Regions from separate parts of the Homo sapiens genome. Here all the other regions are linked to region 5. Evidence: promoter capture Hi-C in 16 types of primary human blood cells and fetal thymus (Javierre and others, 2016). All regions are on one chromosome and are shown on one strand. The core of a region is centred on a gene start or on the middle of the fragment in contact, and the rest is flanking DNA. Distances in the headings are between cores, read along the strand shown. Region 1 has its middle 3.6 kb from the start of LINC00382. Region 2 has its middle 170 kb from the start of LINC00377. Region 3 has its middle 29 kb from the start of LINC01038. Region 4 has its middle 20 kb from the start of LINC00382. Region 5 holds the start of SPRY2 (sprouty RTK signaling antagonist 2). Region 6 overlaps LINC00382 (long intergenic non-protein coding RNA 382). Region 7 has its middle 230 kb from the start of LINC00377.

Region 1 (2,938 bases), core at 33-2,532, 470 kb after region 5:
TGAAAACAACCCTGTAAGCAGCTGAAGAAATGGATTGGAAATAGTAGTTTGAAGTCCAGTAAAGAAACACAGGTGTTGCTGTGTTCAATTAAAGCCTAACAAGAAACTTAGTGGGATAAAAGGGTGGGAGGTGGAACAGGAAAAGGGAAAAATGACATCATCCTCTGCTGGAACTGTTGGAGAAAGGAGAAAAGCCAGAAAATAGCTTACTAAGCACTTCCTAATAAGGAATTTGTAAAGCTGAAGATTTGCAGGACTAACTTTTGTCCACAAAACAATTTACATTTCAAAAAACTAATTTGTGAAAAGATTTTCTTTTAAAAACAGTAGAAAGTCATAGTGGTCAAAGTTAAAGCAAAGACTAGATTTTGAAGCAGGCAATAAATTATAAATTGAGGGGTTGTTTTTGTTTTTGTGGAGGGCAAGGCGGGGGAATAGATTCTATTTAATTTGTTAAAGGTTGATATTTGTACACTGAAAACAGTGTTTTGTAGTACCTTATGGTGTAGGCACTTTACCTGTGTTACTGCAGTAGGGATTTTAAAAAAAAACATCTTTTTGGTATGTTTTTAACAATAATAGTGTACTTCTCAGAAGTCTTTTAAACAATAGTCAATGTTCCAGAATTGAGATACATGTACTGTTGACTTCTCACTTGAACACTAATTCTCTTATTCTTGTTAGGAATTCCATGTAATACAGAAAGAACGGCAACGTTTATTTTGATTGCCTATTTTGCATACCACAAGGCAAGGAATTCTCAGGTTCTGAGGAACACCTCAAAGATATGCAGAAAAGCATTACTTAAAACTTTTTCAGGAAGCTCTTTGCCCCCCTTCCCATCTCCGTCACCTTTAAATCCAGGTATATTTGTAGTAGGAATTTGTTCTGTGGAACCCTGCAGCAATATTTCCCTTCATTTCCATGACAACAGCTCTCTATCAACTTCTGAAGGAACTTGCCTGTATTGTAAACAAACCTCTCTTGGCAATTGGCCTGTTTTCTCTCTCTATCTCATCTTCCATCTGCTCAAAGGCTTTGCTTCAAAAAGAAATAGGTTGCAGGTGTGTACTTTTTCTTTCTCTATCTCCCTCCCCCTTTGTTTCTGAAAGAGGTCAATCTCGGAGATTAAAATTCCCTCAACTAGTGAAATTAACAGTCTCGTGGAGCGAGCCTGAGTACCTGTGTGTACCTGGTAATGAATATTTGGAGCGTATCAACACATAGCATGTTTGGTTCCATTTTAACACAAGCCTCCTCAGAAATAAGCAGACTAACACATTTCATGAAGTGAATTCCAACTACAGGAAAAAATAAGAAATGATTCATGTCAGGCAAAAATAAATCCAAAATAAGTTTTGTTTCCGAATCTTTCATTAAGTCAAAAGTACCTAAGCTATTATAGAAATATTATATACTATATTTATATTATATATATTATATATAATAGAAATAGCTTAGCATTAATAACAGAAATAAAATCTTACCCTGAGCAAGGTGAGAAAAAATGTTTTTGTTTACTTGTTGGGAAAAAAAAAGTCTCTTATACCTTTAACTTGAGAGTTTCATGACCTCACACCAGAGTACAACTTTAATCTTCAGGACTTGAAATGTAGGTCAGTGATTTGTCCAATCTAATAAATTTGACATTTTTGTAAGTTCATTTACCTACACTGTTCTTTTTTTTATTCATTATCACAGCTGTTGAATCAAGTGACTGCTAGAACAAACCGAATTGTCTGGCATTATTTAAGACACCAAAAACCAAAGAAAAAAGGAGGAAAAAAAAGATAAATTTTCTTTATTAAACATAAAGTTTGAAGAGAGATAACCGGAAAAAAAGTATTTGGCTAGAATTATAGAGAGATTTGGGGGCATATGAACCACATTCTCAGGTTTCTATTGGAAATGTTGTTATATTTGCTTGTTTTGTCCTTAATTTTCCTTAAGAGTCATGAGGAGGGACCACCTCACTAATAATATCTGAAGAAAGGTCTTTTTTTAAATTTATTTTTAATTGACAAGTGAAAATTGTATAGATGCATGGCACACAATGTAATGTTCATTTATATACAGTGCAATGATTAAGTAAAGCAAATTAACGTATTCATCACCTCACATCATTATCATTTTGGGGGATGATTTTTGATATCTCCAGAAAACCCCTGATTTGTGAAGCCTGATGTATCTTCTCTTAGATAAACAATAGAAAACAACAAAAACAATAACACGTTATATTGAATTTCCAGTATGTTTTTATTTTTCTGTTGATACTTATATTATCTAAACCTAAAGTACAGTACTAATAACAATAGACTTCTTTTAATTTTAAAGCATCTTCATGTCTTTTTCTCATTTTATGATATGGTCTTTTATCTGTATAATTACAAAAATAATTTTATAAGAAGAAAATCCCAAATTCAGCATAGCCATAAAAACAAACAACAAGAAGAATCCTTACATCTTTCTTGTTGAAAGTACCCAGTTATTGTCTAATTCTTTGTCATGACAAAAATCATTAGTTATTCAAGACACAATGCCTGTAACAATTTATATACAGTAAGATTTCAGAGATGCCATCTTATTCAGAAAAAAACTCAGATTATCTAGGGTTTACTTAAAGCTTAGCTCTGATATTGATTGCTATCTCTTTAGGCAAGGTTCTTAGACTCTCTAAGTCCATTTCAGGTATAAGTGTCCCCAAAACAAAATGGAAACAGTATTTATCTCTCAGCACATAATTGCACATAAGAAATGTTAGTTCCATTCTCCTTTTACTGAGTAGGCGAAGAGGATCATTATGGTCAGAGGCATACTTGAGAGATATAGAGTTAGTTAGGCTTTTAAAAAGTAAAGTTTCCAGTATTATTTTTTAAAAACAAAGTGTACGTGTGGTAACAATCTTCACAGATATTATACTCTATCCAGCATTACAAAT
Region 2 (2,811 bases), core at 31-2,530, 500 kb before region 5:
ATATGATCATGGATGTTGCAGACGCTTTTATGCCTTTTACTGGGATATAAAATTTTCTTCCATTCCCAATTTGATAATTTTTTAGTGAAACATTCTAAATAATTTTTCTTTATCTACTGAAATTATTGTATGGATTTTCCTTTAATATGGCATATTAGGATATAGATTCAACAACGATAAAAGAATCTCAAGTAAGAATGGGTTCAAGATCAAAGTTTACTTTTATTTAATAGGCCAGTATGAAGAGTGCAAGTCTTATACAGAATGTGCTCCAGACTCCTTCTGCGTTGTTGTGGCTTCATATTTATATTGTTTCTAAGGGCATTATACATAATTTCAACATTTCTATAAGCATAAATTGAAAACAGAATGAAATCAGGTAAGCTTCTTACCATTTAAGAGAACTAACAGTTACATACATCATTCTGTTTCACAGCCTTTTGGCCAGAATTTAGTCCCATGGCAGTATGTATTTGCAAACAAGTCTGGGGAATGTAGTGTACTATTCTTGGAAAGCACATGCCCACATTTTTTAAAAAATGTACTTCTTGGAATGCCTATGTTTAGATAAAAATTGCACATATATCTATATCTATATATCTATATATTATATATGGAATATGGAGAAATTAATTATCATGAAACAATAAATACCCTTAACATGCATGATGAGTTACACTAATCAATTTTTTTCCTGCTACTAGATTATATAACATCTTTTAGTATAGAGTCCAATCATCCATTTTTATATATGATAAAATATTTCACACAGTATCTTAAAGGTAAGAGGTACTCAATGTCTATATAATATTTGTATGGATATAGACACTGATATGAAGGAATGCACACATACATAAATCAGTGAATACCCAACCTTTGTAATAACAAAGTATCTCCTGCATTAATTCATGCTTTCATTTATGGGGTAAACGCAACTGGCTCATTCTGAATCATTATTTTTTTAGACTGTGCTACTTTTCTTTGATATTATTTGGCTTAAGACTTTTTTTATAAGAAAGATCTTTTTTTCTTAAACTGCCCTGGTCATTTTATCAAAGTTATGCCTGATTTGGGAGTAAAATTATTTTTAAAAATTTTTTAGATGTTAGAAATATTTTCTTAAAGTTAGGACCACTTGTTGCAAGAAGAAACCACCAACCTAAAATCTCTTGAGTGACTAAGTTTTTCTTACCATAGAGATACCTGTATTAACACAACATGAAGTGAGGTTGACTGTTTTTCTTTCCTCCAAATGCCAAGTTTAACAGAGGTTTTAGCTGTTACATTATTTGTTTGGTTTTGCTGTAACTTTCTGCTTAGTTTTATTCCCTTTCATCTTCATAATGCCAATAAAAATCATTTTCCAGCTTTATATGAGGAGTCTCTTATTTGGTCTCCTCAGCCTTCATAGACTTTATCTCCCTACTCTCATCCCAAACATCTGTCAGAGCAGAAATTCGAGTTATTTAGGCTTTTTTTTTCAGTAACTATGAATGCAAAAGCAAACTTGGATGGTTTTATAGCTTCTAGATATTCTTCATTTCATTTTTATTCTCTGTGGGATTAGTTCTGTCTTGTCCCATCAGTGATGAAAGATAAACAGATTTCGTATCTCTGATACACATGCACGTGCACACACACACACACACACACACACACACACACACATACACCAGCTTTTGCGTTGCTGTTAGTGGGAAAGTCAGTCAGGTACCAGGTTTGCTTTATTGCCAGAAAGAGAAGTGACAAGATGACTAGACCATCTCGCTTCTTTTTCCTTCATTCAGAATCTTTTTCGTTAAATAGGATCAATTATTTAACAGAGATGGACCTCGTGGACATTATGCCAGGAATAGAAAGACAAATTCTGCATTATCTCAGTCATATGTGGAATTTTAAAATAGCCAGACTCATAGAAGCAGAGAGTAGAATGGTGGTTGCCAGGCACTGAGGTAGGTGGAAATGAGAAGGTGTTGATCAAAGGTTATAACATTTCAGATAAGCAAGATAAGTAAGTTCGGAAGATATACTGTACAATGTAGGACCTATGATTAACCTCTGGCTTAAGTATTGTATACTTAACATTTACTAAGGGGATAAATCTCATCTTAAGTGCTCTTACCAAAAAAGAAAAAAAAACTCAACTGAAAGTGAGGGGCAGACCGAAGGAAGCTTTTGGAGGTAATGGGTACATTTATTACATTTATTGTGGCAGTGTTTCACAGGTGCTTACTTATTTTCAAACATATCAAGTTGTATATATATATGAAATATCGACAGCATTTTATATATCAATCATGCTTCAATAAAAAGCTTTAAAAATAAAGAAATATACCTTATTACATGACTCAGTTCCTCATAAATCTTTCACTGTCCATCACTGACTGCAGAATGCTGTTCCTGCTCCTTAACTATGTATTGCAGAGATGCCTAACATGGCCTCAATTGACCATTCTTTGGTTTCCTGCAACTTTTTCCCCCTCAATTCATGTTTCTTTGAATATAACATGGGCTACTACTCAGAGCAGTCTCAATTACTTCATGAAAATTCTCTTCACTTTCTTGCTTGCTGCCTATGATACTGAGATGCTGTCTACCTGGATTGCTTTTTGTTCTTATACCTACCTATCAAAATCTATCTTACGTATCCTTAATAATAAGTTCAATGACAATCACAAACCATCTCTCCTTTCTTTATATTACTAAAACCTTTCTCAAAAGCTTTTCACAAAAAGCAGCCTCATGATTCGCATTATAATCGTTGCTCTAAATGCCTATCTGTATCCCTAAACCACACCATTTCTGAGAACA
Region 3 (2,700 bases), core at 145-2,644, 510 kb after region 5:
GGTCAAAAAGGTAGAAATGCATCTAGAGTAGGAAACAGCACATAATACATTTGTTTATTACCTCTCTTTAATAAACAGTGGCAATAACAGGAACTTTTATGGACAGGTTTTGTTCCTTCCAGCTTTAGCTTTGTCCACAGAGCTGGTGGGAACCCCTGCAGGACACTCCTAAATGGATAAATTTACAATCTGGCCCCTGTAAAGTGCTCCAAGCCACATCTCATCCAAGTTGCCTTTGTGCTTTTCTCACCACCTGTGATGCCAGGGGGCACAGGGTCAGAGCCAGAGTCACCCCCAACTCACACATGCACCAGCTCACTTCCAGAGGATTCAACCTTTTCCCATTTATCTGAAGGCTGAAGGCTTCTTTAGATTTCCTGGCTTCCTGCTTTGCTGAGATGTCTGGATATTTATCTATTTTTCTCCTTTTGGAAACATCTGCCCAGATTTCTCCAGATTCAGCAACAGAAAAATAAACTCAGTTAGAAAATGAAGTAACATAACATGATCCCCTTGGGGCCCTCAACATCTGCTTTTCTCTGTTGTGTTTTTAATTTGGTCATTCCTCTGCAAAAACGTGCAATGGACCAGTGTTTCAAGTAAACAAATAAAGGTAGGGCCTTCTTTTAAATGCCTAGTAATCTACCATAATATCCAGCCCTCTTTAGGAAAAACAAGTAATAAATGTGTATTGCAAGCTTTTTTCTCTCCTCTTTACTTTGGGTTCCATTATTCATTAAGAATTTGAAGTAGTCAGGCTTATCTAGGTTAGGTCGCAATAAAGAAAAAAAATTAACCCTAAATCTCACTGGCTAAAACAGTAAGTTTACTTTTTATTTTTCTATTTTTAACATCACACTTGTGGTTCAGATAGCCACCCTAGCTGGCTCCCCAGAATACTCCAGAATTCCGCCTTACTCCTCTACTATAAAGAAGTCCCCATAATACTTCCATTGCTGGGGAGATATAGGGACGGTCTTCACTGCCACCGGATCCATACCGAATCTTGTCTTAGGAAGTGACGGCTAAACAAAGAGCTTTCTTTATAAAGCCATCAATTGAAAAAAAAATTAAAAAACTAATTTATCTTTCATAATAACTAAGTTTCGAAAGTAATTAGGGAAGGAATGGCAGAAGGAGTCACTGATTGCCTCATTGAGAGTACTTTTTATTATCAGATTATCTGTGAATTTATCATAGAATCTTTTATTTGTGTAAGGCCAGCGAGATACACTGACCACTCATTTGTGCTACGTTTCAATTGGGGTCCTGCTGGTTTTTATTTTATTTTTTTCTGACAGGGTATTTTTCTCATATTGGTATAATCATATATATGAAAAATATAATTATATATATTTAGTAAGTATAGTACTGTATCAAATATACACACAGACACACACATATGTATATATACACATACACATATGTGAATATGCTATTCTGAAATTAACCAATAAGAGAAAACACTGACCCCGTCTATGTATTGCATTTTTCTTTGGTGTCTGCTGGGTTTTATTTTGCTTTTTTCTGATAGGATGTTTTTCTTTTATTGGTGTATTGATATGTGTGTGTGTTTGTGTGTGTGTGTGATATAACTGTATATAAAATATATTTATTGGTATATTCCTTTATATATAATTATATAAATAATGATGTTATAATTATGTAAAGGAATTATATATGTTTTATAGTATATATAATTACAATTTTTAACATGAGGAAAATGAAGCATTTCTCTAGCTTTCCATAGTTTCTCTTAACTTTTATTTCTATTTTTATGTATTTCTTTTGTGCATGTGTATATTTAAATTGTTTCTTTTTTAATTAACAAATAGAAATTGTATATATTTATGGTTTACAACATTTTGAAATAGGTATACATTATAAAATGGCTAAATAGTGCCCTACACTATCAATACTGACATCTTTACACCTGAGTACAGCCCACCCTGAAAGAAGAAGACCCCAACATAAGTATGAGTGTAATTTCAGCCCCTAAATCCACTTGTCTAGAAAGTTTCCAGAAGGAGATGGGCTATCCCATCACAAAATAGTAATCAGGATTACACTGAGTGCGTGGAGGAAGCTTGAATAAATGCAGGACAGAGCACTCTTCCATTTAATGGACTGAGGCGAGCATAAAAGTTTGGTCCAAGCCAGTGTAGATGGGCTTTATTCTTTAACAATTGTAACTTATCCATACTTTTGAGTTGACCTTACCATTGTTGGCATGGGTTTCCAACAGGTCTTAACAGAAGAATTTTACAATTGCTTGGCTTCAGTGAATGTTAACAGGAGAAAACAGGTGAGCAGGCAGGTGACTGGAATTCTGAGCCAAAGGTACCAGAAGTTTACATTGTACAGAGAACCCATCCTATTAGCAGACTCAGCTGCCAAACTTTAAAGTGATTGTCATCACATGAAACAACACTGAAAACTCTATACATAGCCCATAGAGACTAGCAGTATAACATCTATATTTAGGTGACCCAGATGGTCAAAGTTGTCCAACATTCGGAGGACACCATCTTAATTTTTATTTTGCAACTCTTCATACATACAACAACATCCAATATACAACTCAACATGGTTGACCTTTACACCCTTCTCCCTCACATTCATGCTTCTTTATAAATTAGTCAAGATAAAGGACAAGACACCCCGTCAGTTTGATATGGGTTGGTAATATACTTATAGAAA
Region 4 (2,700 bases), core at 16-2,515, 490 kb after region 5:
TTACCTTTCCCCTGACAAATCCTGCCATTTCAAAGTTAATTGCTTCTACTTCCATTACACACCTGCCTTGTTTTATTTTGTCTATTAACTATGCTTTCTTGTAAGTAGATTTTATCTATTCCACTTGTCCCCTTTCCCTTCTTATTAATGAACTCCCTAGCACTGGCATCAGCTGAGGATTATCCTTCAACCCAAGCTTCTTAAACCAGTCTCCAAATTATTTGCTGCTTAGATCATTGCTCTTGGCATCCTCCTTGCTAATTCACCTTTGTTAGGAAACTCTTGTCTCCGAAAATATCCCTTTCTTGCAGAGTATAGGAAGGAATTATTCCTTCAAACAATTTTTTTAACTACTCTTTCTTTTGAGCTGGCTTTATTTTCTCCTCCCTTTGAATGTCTAGCAGCATGTGTCTTTCAGCTAGAACTGCACAATGTCTATACCTCTGGCAGGTAAAAGGAGGAAAAAGGCACACCTCAAGGTACTCTTCCAAAAGGAATCAAATAGAAGTCCTCCAAGCTCCATTCCTCTGGGTAGGCTGAGCACAGGCTGGTTTCCTTCAGGAAGAATAATTCTGACTTTTCTAATTGTTATGCTCCACTGGCATTCCTCACTTTCCATATCTGAATACTGTATAGGTTGATTGTTTTTCTCCTTAAATGTACTTTTTTTTTTTTTTTGAGACGGAGTCTTGCTCTTGTCACCCAGGCTGGAGTGCAGTGCCATGATCTCGGCCCACTGAAACCTCTGCCTCCCGGGTTCAAACAATTCTCCTGCCTCCGCCTCCCGAGTAGCTGGGATTACAGGCACCTGCCACCACACCTGGTTAATTTTTGTATTTTTAGTAGAGATGGGGTTTCACCATGTTGGCCAGGCTGGTCTCAAACTCCCTACCTCGTGATCCACCCACCTTGGCCTCCCAAAGTGCTAGGATTACAGGTGTGAGCTACCGCACCCGGCCTAAATGTACTCTTAACACTGATTCCATCTACTTATTCTGGACCTTGTTTCATGACTCACTGCAAACTATTCACCTTCTTACCTACCCCCCACCATCCCTGATTTATTTCTTTACTCAAATCTTAAACAAGATCCTTGAGATGTTTTTCGTTTGAAGGGTGTTTTTTTTTTTTTTTTTTTGAGACAGAGTCTCGCTCTGTCACCAGGCTGGAGTGCAATGGCAGGATCTCTGCTCACTGCACCTCCGTCTCCCGGGTTCAAGCGATTCTCCTGCCTCAGCCTCCCGAGTAGCTGGAACTACAGGCAAGCACCAGAACGCCCAGCTAATTTCTGTATTTTTAGTAGAGACGGGGTTTCACCATGTTGGCCAGGATGGTCTCGATCTCTTGACCTCGTGATCTGCCCGCCTCAGACTCCCAAAGTACTGGGATTACAGGCGTGAGCCACTGTGCTCGGCTGAAGGGTGTTTTTATGTGGGGCCTCCTTTTGATTTTGTTTTGAACCCTTACTTATTACTGTGGCGAGTTGCATCTCCAGGGCTCCATGCTTTGTTTGGCTGAATTTCTCCCTTCACTACTAAGTAATTGGCTCATAACTGATCATGTTCAAATTTGTCTCCTTATTCACAATGGATTCAGCAGACAGTGAGGGCTACTGGGTTAAAATCCAAAGGATTTTAACATGGAGAGAACCCTAGATGCTATCTAACACAATCTGTTCTCCAACACTGATGTCTTTCTGCCCATACACAGACACTTCTCTTGACAGGAAGCTCACTGCTCTACAAGACAACACTTCCCACTCGTAGACATTCCAATGTTCTACCACGTGTTTCCTAATGGTTAAATTAAATCTAGCTCACTGCAGTTTTCACATTTGTATACTACTTTTTCCCTTTGAGGTGCTATGCAAAAATATTGAATCGGTATTCCCTGACATTCAGTATTTCGAGATATTTTACAATAGATATCCTAAATCTTTGAGGATTACTCTTTCCCAGACCAGTTATCCAACATTCTTTCAACTATTGATCAACTGTCTTGGCTTCTACTTTCCTTACAGTCTCCATAGAGTAACAGCATGCTCATGTCCCTTCTGATCCACATGACCTGGAACCAAATGCAGTGTTCCCCCAGGGTCTGACCAGACCAGAGCATGGTGTAAGGAGATGATTATTTAGTTCTATTCATTAGCCTAAGATTGCATTAGCTTTTAGAATCCTTTCTTTATAGTGACTCATAAGATGTTTTATTCATAATTTTATGAGTTATTTCTGAATCAGGTGTCCTTTACCCTAGAAATATATGGCTAATTTTTGGAATCTAAATGTAAGCCTTCACATTTAGATTTATTAAAATGCATTTTATAAAGCTTGGGCCATCTTTTCAATTTTTAGTTCTTTTTACATTACAGCCGTAACAGTCAGCTTACTTATTCTGCCTCAATTTTCTTTAGCTGTAAGTTTGGTAAGCACTTAACCTCCTTTATCATAATGCAAATTATTAGCAAAAATGTTGAGTCAGGGCCAAGAATACAAACCAAACAATTCCATTGAGGTCGGTATCAATTAAACAACCAGCACTCTTTAGGTCCACCACTTTCCAGGAGCTCTAATTCTCTGGAACACAGAGTACTGCCCACATTTCTTCAGGTAATACACACAGCTAACACTCACATCATAGTTATGATAACAGCTAACATGTATTACACATTGTGAGTCTATTATGTGCTAGACATTTTTC
Region 5 (2,896 bases), core at 322-2,821:
TCAGAAGAAGGCAGCTAGTTCCAGGGTAGCTGCAAATGGATTGGGTTAAAGCTGGACGAGTGAAGCACCATGTTTTCCTAACACTGCTTTCAAGAACACCCCGCATGGGGCAAGATCGCAGGTGCTATTCGGGAATTTTGACCGTACAAGCAGGTACTTCCCTGTAAAGTAAAAGCATTCTGTAAGTCGCTCGACAGAATGCAATATTAGGCGTGTGTATGCGCAAGTTTTAATTTTCCACTGGTGCTCCCACGTGAAGGCACATTTCTTAGTAAATGAACGGCAGCTAGGACAGTGCATATGTATGCATTTTCTATCTTTATTTTTTTTTTGTAAATGGGAAAGAATAGTGCACCTTCAACATGGACAACAGAATCTTGAGAAATGTTCTAGGTGGCAAGAAAAGTGGGAAATGAAGGATGACTTTTAGTTAAGGGAAGAAGGAAATCTGCAGTGAGCCAACCCTTCCCTCCCCCCCGCCCCCCCATTTCGGAAGCCCATGCTGTCGCCCTGAGTAATCTTGTTCCTGTCTATTAATGAATTAAGTTAAAAGGCTTAGACTGTAGACTTTAGCTACTGCATGAAGCAAAATAGTAAGGAAGCTCTTCAAAAAGCCTCCATTCATAGATAACCCCCCTTAAAAATGAAATTCTAATAAACGGAAAAACTACAAGTCGACACAATCAAAAGCAAATCCCAGCAAGAGCAGAAGGTACTTGAAACTCGAATCTGCATTCCGTTCCTCCCGTACAAGGCTCGGAGGTGGGGGAGGCGGTTTGTGCTGGTGCCTGGTGTATAATCGGGTTAATCCAGTAGACAAAGAATAAACCAATAGCCCTCCCACCTCACTTCCCGCTCCCCTTCCCCTCCCCCTTCTTCTCCCCCCGCCCCAGCCCCCGTCACCCGCTCCGCAAAGGGGAACAGAAAAGGGGAGAGGTAGACTTGAAATGGATTCTGGATAAAGTCTTAAAACCTGCAACTTGTTTTTCATGCTAACACTGCGTGGCCCAGATTAGTCTTAAATGTTCATTCCCCTTTCCTGGTGGCAAGGAGAAAGTTCCCTAAGTCAGCTCGAGCCTCTGGCTCGTCCTCATTGCCTCTGGGCAAACCTTAAGGTCAGTGTTTCCTTGAAACTAGATAAACTGACCCTGCAGTGCCCAGCCCGGCCCCGCGGGCGCCCCGCGTGACGGCGCTCGGGCGGCAGGACCGGCCTGGGGACGCGCGGGGCGGCGCGGTTGCCCTTTTGAATGCCTCCTGCGGCTCGGAGCGCTGGCGGGCGCTGGAGTGTGAGTGAATGTAGCCCCGCGGAGCCAATGAGCTGGGACCGGATGCGATATATCCTCTGGGACAACAACTGCTCTGTTCCGCCTCGGATCCACATGACGCCATTTACTGCTGCCGCGGCCGCCGCAGAGCTCCCTGCCTCCTCCGGAAAGGCGAGGGCGCAGGCCAACGGCGAGCCCCCCCCGGGCGGGCCCCAGACCCTCCTCCTCCTCCTCCTCCTCCTCTTCCTCCTCCTCCGCACCCACCGCCCCCGCCTCGGCCTCGCTGCCTCGCCTCCACAACGCCCAGTCTGCACCGCCGAGAGCTGCGCGCCGCAGCGCTAGCGGAGGAGAGGGGCCGGCGGAGCGCGCAGCGCCCAGGCCCCCGCGCCCGCCCGGCCCGGCCCGGCCCGCGCCCCCGCGCCGCCTCCGCTACGACGCGGCCCCGGCCGCACCACTTGGCGATCTGGCTTTAGGTTCTCCGTAAGGCCGTTTTCTTTTCCCATTCGCTCATCTGCCAGGAAAAGGGACTTGCCGTTGGCGCTTCGGCCTCTTGTTCATTGAGAAAAAAGAGGAAATACTCCGCGTGCGCTTGTAGAAGGGGAGTCGTCTCCAGCTCCGAACCCCGGAGTGTTCATCAGCGGGGAATCTGGCTCCGAATTCTCTTTTTTTCTCCCGCCGATTGCTCGGAAGTTGGTCTAAAGCAGAGGTTGGAAAGAAAGGAAAAAAGTTTGCATCGAGACTGGATTTATTTGCACATCGCAGAAAGAAGAGAATCCAAGGGAGAGGGGTTGGTGCAAAGCCGCGATCACGGTGAGGCACGTTTGGCTCTTCCCCTCCTGGCGCCGCGGCCGGCGCGTTGTGGGCAACATGGAGTAGGTGCAGCCGGACCAGGAGTTGGGTCCGTCTCTCCCCGAGCCTCCCTTTCTCAAATCCCGCAGGGTCTTCGCGAGGATCCGGGGCGCTCCCCGCGGACCTGCCTCGCCCGGGGCTTGGGCTCGGCCTGCCTCTGCGGGGACTTCTGTATGCACCCCGTGCAGTGTCCCCGACAGGCGACCCCGCGCGCCCGCGCTCTAGGGGGTTGGGACGGAGGACAGCTAGCCTGAAGTCTGCTCCCAGCCGTGCACTGGCCGCGAATTCGGCGCTGAGAGCGGGAGAGGGAGAGAAAAACACTTTGTATTTTCCAGGTTGCCTTTGCAGGCGCCCGCATTTCTAACCTGTTCTTCCTCTTGGTGGAAGGCAAAGTCCAGGGAGAGGCTGTCCCTAGGCGGGGCGCTGGTGGGGCTGGGGGACACAGGTTGCCCGCCTCGGGGGCAGGAGACTTCCAGGGTGAGAAAAAGGCAGGGTGCCGGGTGGAGGGAGTGCCCGCCTCTGCTCCGTGTGGACAGTCTAGCCCGGAGCGGGTGGGAGCGTCGCCCTGCCTGGCGCCGGGTCTCTGCGGTTCGGAAGTGCAGCTCTCTCTCTTCCGTTCTTCGTGGTCAGCCTGGGTCACACTTATTTTATTTTTGGAAGCTCGGGCTGACCCAGCGCAGGAAGAAAGTCATCAAGCGGTCGCGATCATTTTCCATTACCTGAAAGTAGGTGGCAAAATAGGCAATTTTTTATTTCCTTTTGTTGTTGTTGTTGCTGTGTTT
Region 6 (2,874 bases), core at 281-2,780, 440 kb after region 5:
GGAGTCTTGGACCAGCTTTGACCAACAAGCAGGGCTTCTGTGGGCTAGTTCTGCCTGTGCACCATGATGATGTGAGTTTTCATTAGCTTTGCCTCCTTGAGAATGACAGAAGCTTTCAGATTAGAAATGTATGAAATGTACATGCACAAGGAGAATAAATAAGCCTTGAAACCTAGAACTATGTCAACAGGAAATGAGAAAAGGAAATGCTAAAAACAAAAATGTGTTAAGTGTGGAGAGGGAGAAATAATTATGAAATCTAGATGGGGCCTTTCTTTCTAAGAGTATTTGAAAACAGATATCTACATATCTGTATATACTTATATATACACACATACATGCATGCAAATATATGTGTATATATATATACACACACACATTTTACATTTGGCTTAGGCCCTGAGCTCATTCAACAAAAACTGGTATGCCCAAAAGAGTAATAGAGTATAACTAGCATAATATGACTGCTCAATGAAATCAGCTGTGTAGGTTGCCAAAGGAACAGCATCGTTTTATGGAAAGAGTTCTGATTATAAAGCAGATGCAAGAATAACCCCAGAGTGACAAGGCATGGTGGCTCATGCCTGTAATCCCAGCACTTCGGGAGGCCAAGGCAGGCAGATCACTTGAGTTTAGGAATTGGAGACCTGCCTGCCTGGCCAATGTGGAGAAACCTTGTCTCGACTAAAAGTACAAAAATTATCTGGGCATGGTGGTGCACGCCTGTAGTCCCAGATATTTGGGAGGCTGAGGCACGAGATTCTCTTGAACCCAGGAGCTGGAGGTTTCAGTGAGCTGAGATCGCAACACTGCACTCCAGCCTGAATGACAGAGTGAGACCCTGTCTCAAAAACTACAATAATATTATTACTAATAAAATAATCCCAGGGAAGTCCTAGGAACACAGGAAATAGACATCTAACAAGGTGTGGGCTGGTCATGAGGTATCAAGGGCTAAGTCTGCTCAAGGTAATTCAATTCCATTAAAATGTACCTGTCACATCCTCCACTAAAGTATTATTCTAGATTATGCAGAAGACACCAAGGCTAGTGATGCAGGGGGCTTGCTGTCATGAAATCTATGATCTTGGTAGCTGGATGGAGGAGAGAGTTGGTAGGAGGAAATATATTAGGTGGAATATATTTCTAGGCAGCTAGAATTAGAATCAAAATTTCAATGTAGTCAAAAAGCACACCTCTCTGAAAGTAGAACTCAAACTATCTCAACCTCTCTGAAACCTAGGGAGACCTCCGGGTTTCCTTCTTACTATGCCTTCTTTATCTCATCTTTATGGAATCCATTTCCTCCCCTTAAGAGCACCTTCACTACTGAGCACTCCTTGTTGTTAATACCACCTCGCTCTAATTGTTCATGCATTCCAGCTCAGCTATTAAGTATGGTTATACCTAGTTGTATGTTTCCATGGTGTGTTTAATTTTACATATTTCTGCAGTGGCTGCACATTCTTGAGAAGATGCATGTACTTTTCTACCTTTTGCATAAGATGGTAAGTTCCTTCAAGGACAAAAACTTTATCCTCTTCCTTAGAAGGCCCCACATCTTCTCATAAAGCATTTGACACTTTAGGTATGCATAAATCTGCTATTCTTATGTTAATCCACGCTTATTACAGAAGCACAAATTTGAGTTCTTTTTCATCCTCTGGATCCTAATTTTTTTGTTCTCAATAATGGACAAGGGCTCTGTGAGAGAATCTCTGAGAATCTTTCCTCATGGATGGTGGTCTGATACAGTTATCTGGTTGGAGACAGAGAGTCTTTGAGGAAACTGATCCAATCAAGTCAGATCCTCTCTGATATGATTTGGATGTGTGTCCCCATTCAAATCTCATATTGAAATGTAATCCCCAGTGTTGAAGATGGGACCTGGTGGGAGGTGACTGGATCATGGGGGCAGATTTCGCATGAATGGTTTAGTACCATCCCCTTGTTGCTGTCCTTGTGATAGTGAGTTCTCATGAGATCCAGTTGTTTAAAAGTGTGTAGCCCCTCCCCTCTCACTCTCTTTCTCCTGCTCTGGCCCTGTGCCATGCCTGCTCCCTCTGTCTTCCACCATGACTGTAAGTTTGCTGAGGCCTACCTAGAAGCTGAGCAGATGCCAGCATCATGCTGCAGCCTCAGAACCATGACCCAATTAAACCTCTTTTCTTTATAAATTATGCTGTCTCATGTATTTCTTTATAGTAATGTGAAAACAGACTAATGCAGTCTTCAAAAGCTCAGTGACCCTGGAAAGAAACATGTCCAAGGGGTTCAAAGACGCCACTAGTCCCAGAATAGATTAGGTGTATGTAATGCTAATATGAGTTTAGTGGGGATAAGGACAAAACATATAATCAGTCAGCACTCAGCAAAATTTAGTCTTTCATTATCTCTCTTGTGTCAGTAAAGTGTTCATCTCACATAGAATGAAAAGGGTCTATGCACATTGAAATAGAGTCACCAAAGAATCATGGAGTAAACAATCTGAGTGCTATCCATGACACCTGAATGAAGCTGATTCAGAGAAAACCTATGCCTTCTGGTGCACTTTCAAGGCAAGACCAGAATTCCACGACAAACTTCTCATCAAGAAATCAAATCTGTTCTTCTCCGCTTGCATCTTAGTGGCCTTGTGCCAGTGTTGACCAATATAGCAGAAGTGATTTCCAAGGTTAGGTCACAAAAGGCCATGCAGCTGCCATCTTTTTTGCTGGAATGCACATTCATAAGGTCAGCTACCCAGAGGCTACCATGCTGAGAGTAAGCTCGAGCCACATGGACAGCCCATGTGTCAGAGCTCTGTTTGATAAAACTATCTGAGCCCAGCCTTTAGGTCATGTCAGCCCGGGTGCCAGACATGTAAGTGAAGAA
Region 7 (2,700 bases), core at 40-2,539, 440 kb before region 5:
CCCCTCATCCAGGTACTAGCTCACAATCCATTTACTCTTCTAAGAAACTCTCTCTCTTCCCTTTACTACCAATATCTTCCCCTCTGCTCGTACCAGCCCTCAGTCCTAATGCTCAACACCTCATACCAGGCACACCTGCACCCACTGCCCCTTGCTCCACTTGTCAGTCTCCGGATCTCCTTTAAGAGCCATTTTAAACATCACTTCCTTCACTAAATGTCTCCAGATTTCCCCAAATAATTTGTTGAATTCAGGAAACCAAAGGAAGTATGTCTTGTCATCAAGGGTGTATTTAGGATGATGTTAAGGCTAGAGAAGTGGGCAGGAACTGTGTCAAGAATAATATGGATTGCTAAACCAACAAATCTGAACTTTATCATAGAAGTCATGGAGTTCATGAAGAACTTCAAGCAGGAATAGATTATATTAATGTTTGTGTTTTAGAAAAATTCCTCTAATTGACAATAAAGGATGGTTTGGAAACAAGAAAGACTGGAGCCAGGGGAAGTGTTGTTTTATCTCTTTCAATAATCACATAAATACACAAATAGACTGTAGATGTTTTTATGGCATAGACTGCATCTTATACTTAAGAATTTTATTACCAAATGACACTGTTATAAATTTATACTTGTAAGAATGCTCAACGTTGATGACCTATGTAAGTTTTATCACATTTTAAAGAAGAGAGGAACCAAAACAGTATGGATTTTGCACAATTAAGTTAATAACTTTTTTCTTAAAGATGTACACACAAAGACACATGCACACACATATATATACTGTAAATTACATATATATATACCTAAATTACATTGAAATTGGTATAGCCACAGATTTTTAAATCAAACTTTAACAGGATAAATAATGTGTTAGGTGTCTACGTAACCATAATTGTTTATTGCCTAAGAGGCAACACATGCTGGCACAGACGTTGAATAGAGAAAATTTAAAAATATTTCTTTGGTTCAAAGGCTATAGTTGTCATTGTTTCTAAGCTACTCCCACCACCCTCATAGTTTCCATAAATACGTGTAGGTTCTCAAAGATCTTAGTGTTATTTGTTTTCAAGAAACAAAGTTCAATGCTCATGGCAAATAAATCACACCTACCTTCTATAAATTAATTCATGACAAATTTTAAAAATTAAAGAAATTCTCAGAAAAAGCAACTAACCAAATAGTACCAAAATAAAATAAAGAACATTGAACAGGTAAAAATTATGACTTCTTTTAACCACCAAAATTAACATTAAGAATTCAGTAAATTTGAGAAAATGTGAGTGACAGGTATTTAACATAAATTATCTTCTGTCTTAAATAATCTGTGGATTGTAATACCACACACCTACACATGCATACATAAAATCCATATGCATTTCATCTATATATATTAGAATTATTATTTCATATGTAAAAGTGGTGGAATCTGAGACAACTGTCTAAATAGAACCAATGGTAGTTTTATTCCATTTTTCTAATAAACTAGGCTGGAATTTTACAGATTCAATTTAGTGCAGTAAAGTTCAGTGCAGAAGTAGGTGAGTTGAAATCTAGAAGGATTAAGATCAGGCCCTGCTATCAGTGCATATCCACAAAAAAACATCCACAAAACTAGAACAGAAAAAAAAAAAAGGCTTTTTAGTCAGGTACATTTGGATTCAAATGCGTTTCACCAATGAGTATTAAGTAACCTTGAGCAAATTTATTAATGTTTCCTGAACTTTGTTTCCTTATTTGTAAATGGAAATGATAATATTATAGTAGTCTCAAAAAAACTGTAGGGATAGTAGCCCATCTAGCAGAGTCTGAAAGCAGTGCATGTTCAATAAGAGATAGATATCACTGCAGTTTCAAACTACATTGTCAAAAATGATATGCAAATGCTATTCAAACCATCAAATAGTTAAAATGTGATTATTTCTGGAGGGGAGGATTGGAAAGAACCAATTAGCTAAGGAAGATTTTAAAAACTTAACTCTTTTTAAACTTAGTTTTTAGAAAGTATCTTTGGTAGTGGTTAGAACTGTAATACAGAAAATTGATAGGAAAGGGCATTTCAGACAGAGAGAACAGTAGATGAGATGCTAGAATATTTGGATATTTTAGGATGAATTATACTGTTTGACAAGAGTGAGTTTGGGACTTCATAAGAGTCCTGAAAACCACACCAGAAATTATACTTTGATTCTTGATATGCTTATAGCAATTAACATGTTTTAAGTAAGTGAATGTCATTAAACAACATTTTCCCATTACCAAGAATATTTTCCTTATTTTGATTTTTAAAGCTAATGAACCTATTAAAAATATCCAACAACATAATTTTTTCCTTGAGTGGATAAAATAGGAAATCATATATGTTAAAACTTATTATAAATCCCATGGCACATTACAAAATGCTTGTGAAATTTTTTTATACCCATAGCAATGCTATTTTAACAATTTTGTCACAAACAGTCTGACATTGGGAACTAGCAGCCATGAAATAATTTTTCAACATGCTTTATAAAGAAAAAATATTCCCAAATTTGAGGATGTGATATTATAAGAGACTCCAAAATTTCCCTGAACTCATGATGAACCATTCTTCCTCCCTTCTACATTGAAAGGCCTCATAGGTTCTTTCAGAACACACAAAACATTCTTGCTACTGCATTAAAAAAAACACAGGCTGATCCCCCACCCAGTAAACATTTGA

What was found. The method cuts DNA at HindIII sites, captures the fragments that hold promoters and counts their contacts. A CHiCAGO score of 5 or more calls a contact.
Region 1: a fragment that was not itself captured here is called in contact with the fragment with the promoter of SPRY2 in region 5 in 6 of 17 cell types (monocytes, neutrophils, M0 macrophages and 3 more); the score reaches 10.2 in monocytes.
Region 2: a fragment that was not itself captured here is called in contact with the fragment with the promoter of SPRY2 in region 5 in 2 of 17 cell types (total B cells and naive B cells); the score reaches 5.6 in total B cells.
Region 3: a fragment that was not itself captured here is called in contact with the fragment with the promoter of SPRY2 in region 5 in 1 of 17 cell types (M1 macrophages); the score reaches 5.5 in M1 macrophages.
Region 4: a fragment that was not itself captured here is called in contact with the fragment with the promoter of SPRY2 in region 5 in 4 of 17 cell types (M0 macrophages, M1 macrophages, monocytes and 1 more); the score reaches 8.1 in M0 macrophages.
Region 6: a fragment that was not itself captured here is called in contact with the fragment with the promoter of SPRY2 in region 5 in 5 of 17 cell types (M1 macrophages, M0 macrophages, endothelial precursors and 2 more); the score reaches 5.7 in M1 macrophages.
Region 7: a fragment that was not itself captured here is called in contact with the fragment with the promoter of SPRY2 in region 5 in 1 of 17 cell types (naive B cells); the score reaches 6.2 in naive B cells.

What each region holds. Positions count from the first base shown.
Region 1 is chr13:79,867,526-79,870,463 of GRCh38, reverse strand. No RefSeq gene overlaps it. Among named protein-coding and RNA genes, the nearest start is that of LINC00382, 3.6 kb to the left of the region's middle. The HindIII fragment of the contact is 2,686 bases long and covers 1-2,625 here.
Region 2 is chr13:80,842,019-80,844,829 of GRCh38, reverse strand. No RefSeq gene overlaps it. Among named protein-coding and RNA genes, the nearest start is that of LINC00377, 170 kb to the left of the region's middle. The HindIII fragment of the contact is 1,788 bases long and covers 387-2,174 here.
Region 3 is chr13:79,831,990-79,834,689 of GRCh38, reverse strand. No RefSeq gene overlaps it. Among named protein-coding and RNA genes, the nearest start is that of LINC01038, 29 kb to the right of the region's middle. The HindIII fragment of the contact is 1,388 bases long and covers 701-2,088 here.
Region 4 is chr13:79,850,959-79,853,658 of GRCh38, reverse strand. No RefSeq gene overlaps it. Among named protein-coding and RNA genes, the nearest start is that of LINC00382, 20 kb to the left of the region's middle. The HindIII fragment of the contact is 2,133 bases long and covers 199-2,331 here.
Region 5 is chr13:80,339,801-80,342,696 of GRCh38, reverse strand. SPRY2 (sprouty RTK signaling antagonist 2) reads left to right here and starts at 1,571. Exons shown (of 2, transcript NM_005842.4): 1 at 1,571-2,075. RefSeq lists silencers at 1,154-1,203, 1,434-1,623. The HindIII fragment of the contact is 9,098 bases long and covers 1-2,896 here.
Region 6 is chr13:79,895,537-79,898,410 of GRCh38, reverse strand. All of the region lies in intron 1 of LINC00382 (long intergenic non-protein coding RNA 382), which reads right to left. Among named protein-coding and RNA genes, the nearest start is that of LINC00382, 24 kb to the right of the region's middle. The HindIII fragment of the contact is 2,831 bases long and covers 115-2,874 here.
Region 7 is chr13:80,784,396-80,787,095 of GRCh38, reverse strand. No RefSeq gene overlaps it. Among named protein-coding and RNA genes, the nearest start is that of LINC00377, 230 kb to the left of the region's middle. The HindIII fragment of the contact is 2,893 bases long and covers 1-2,700 here.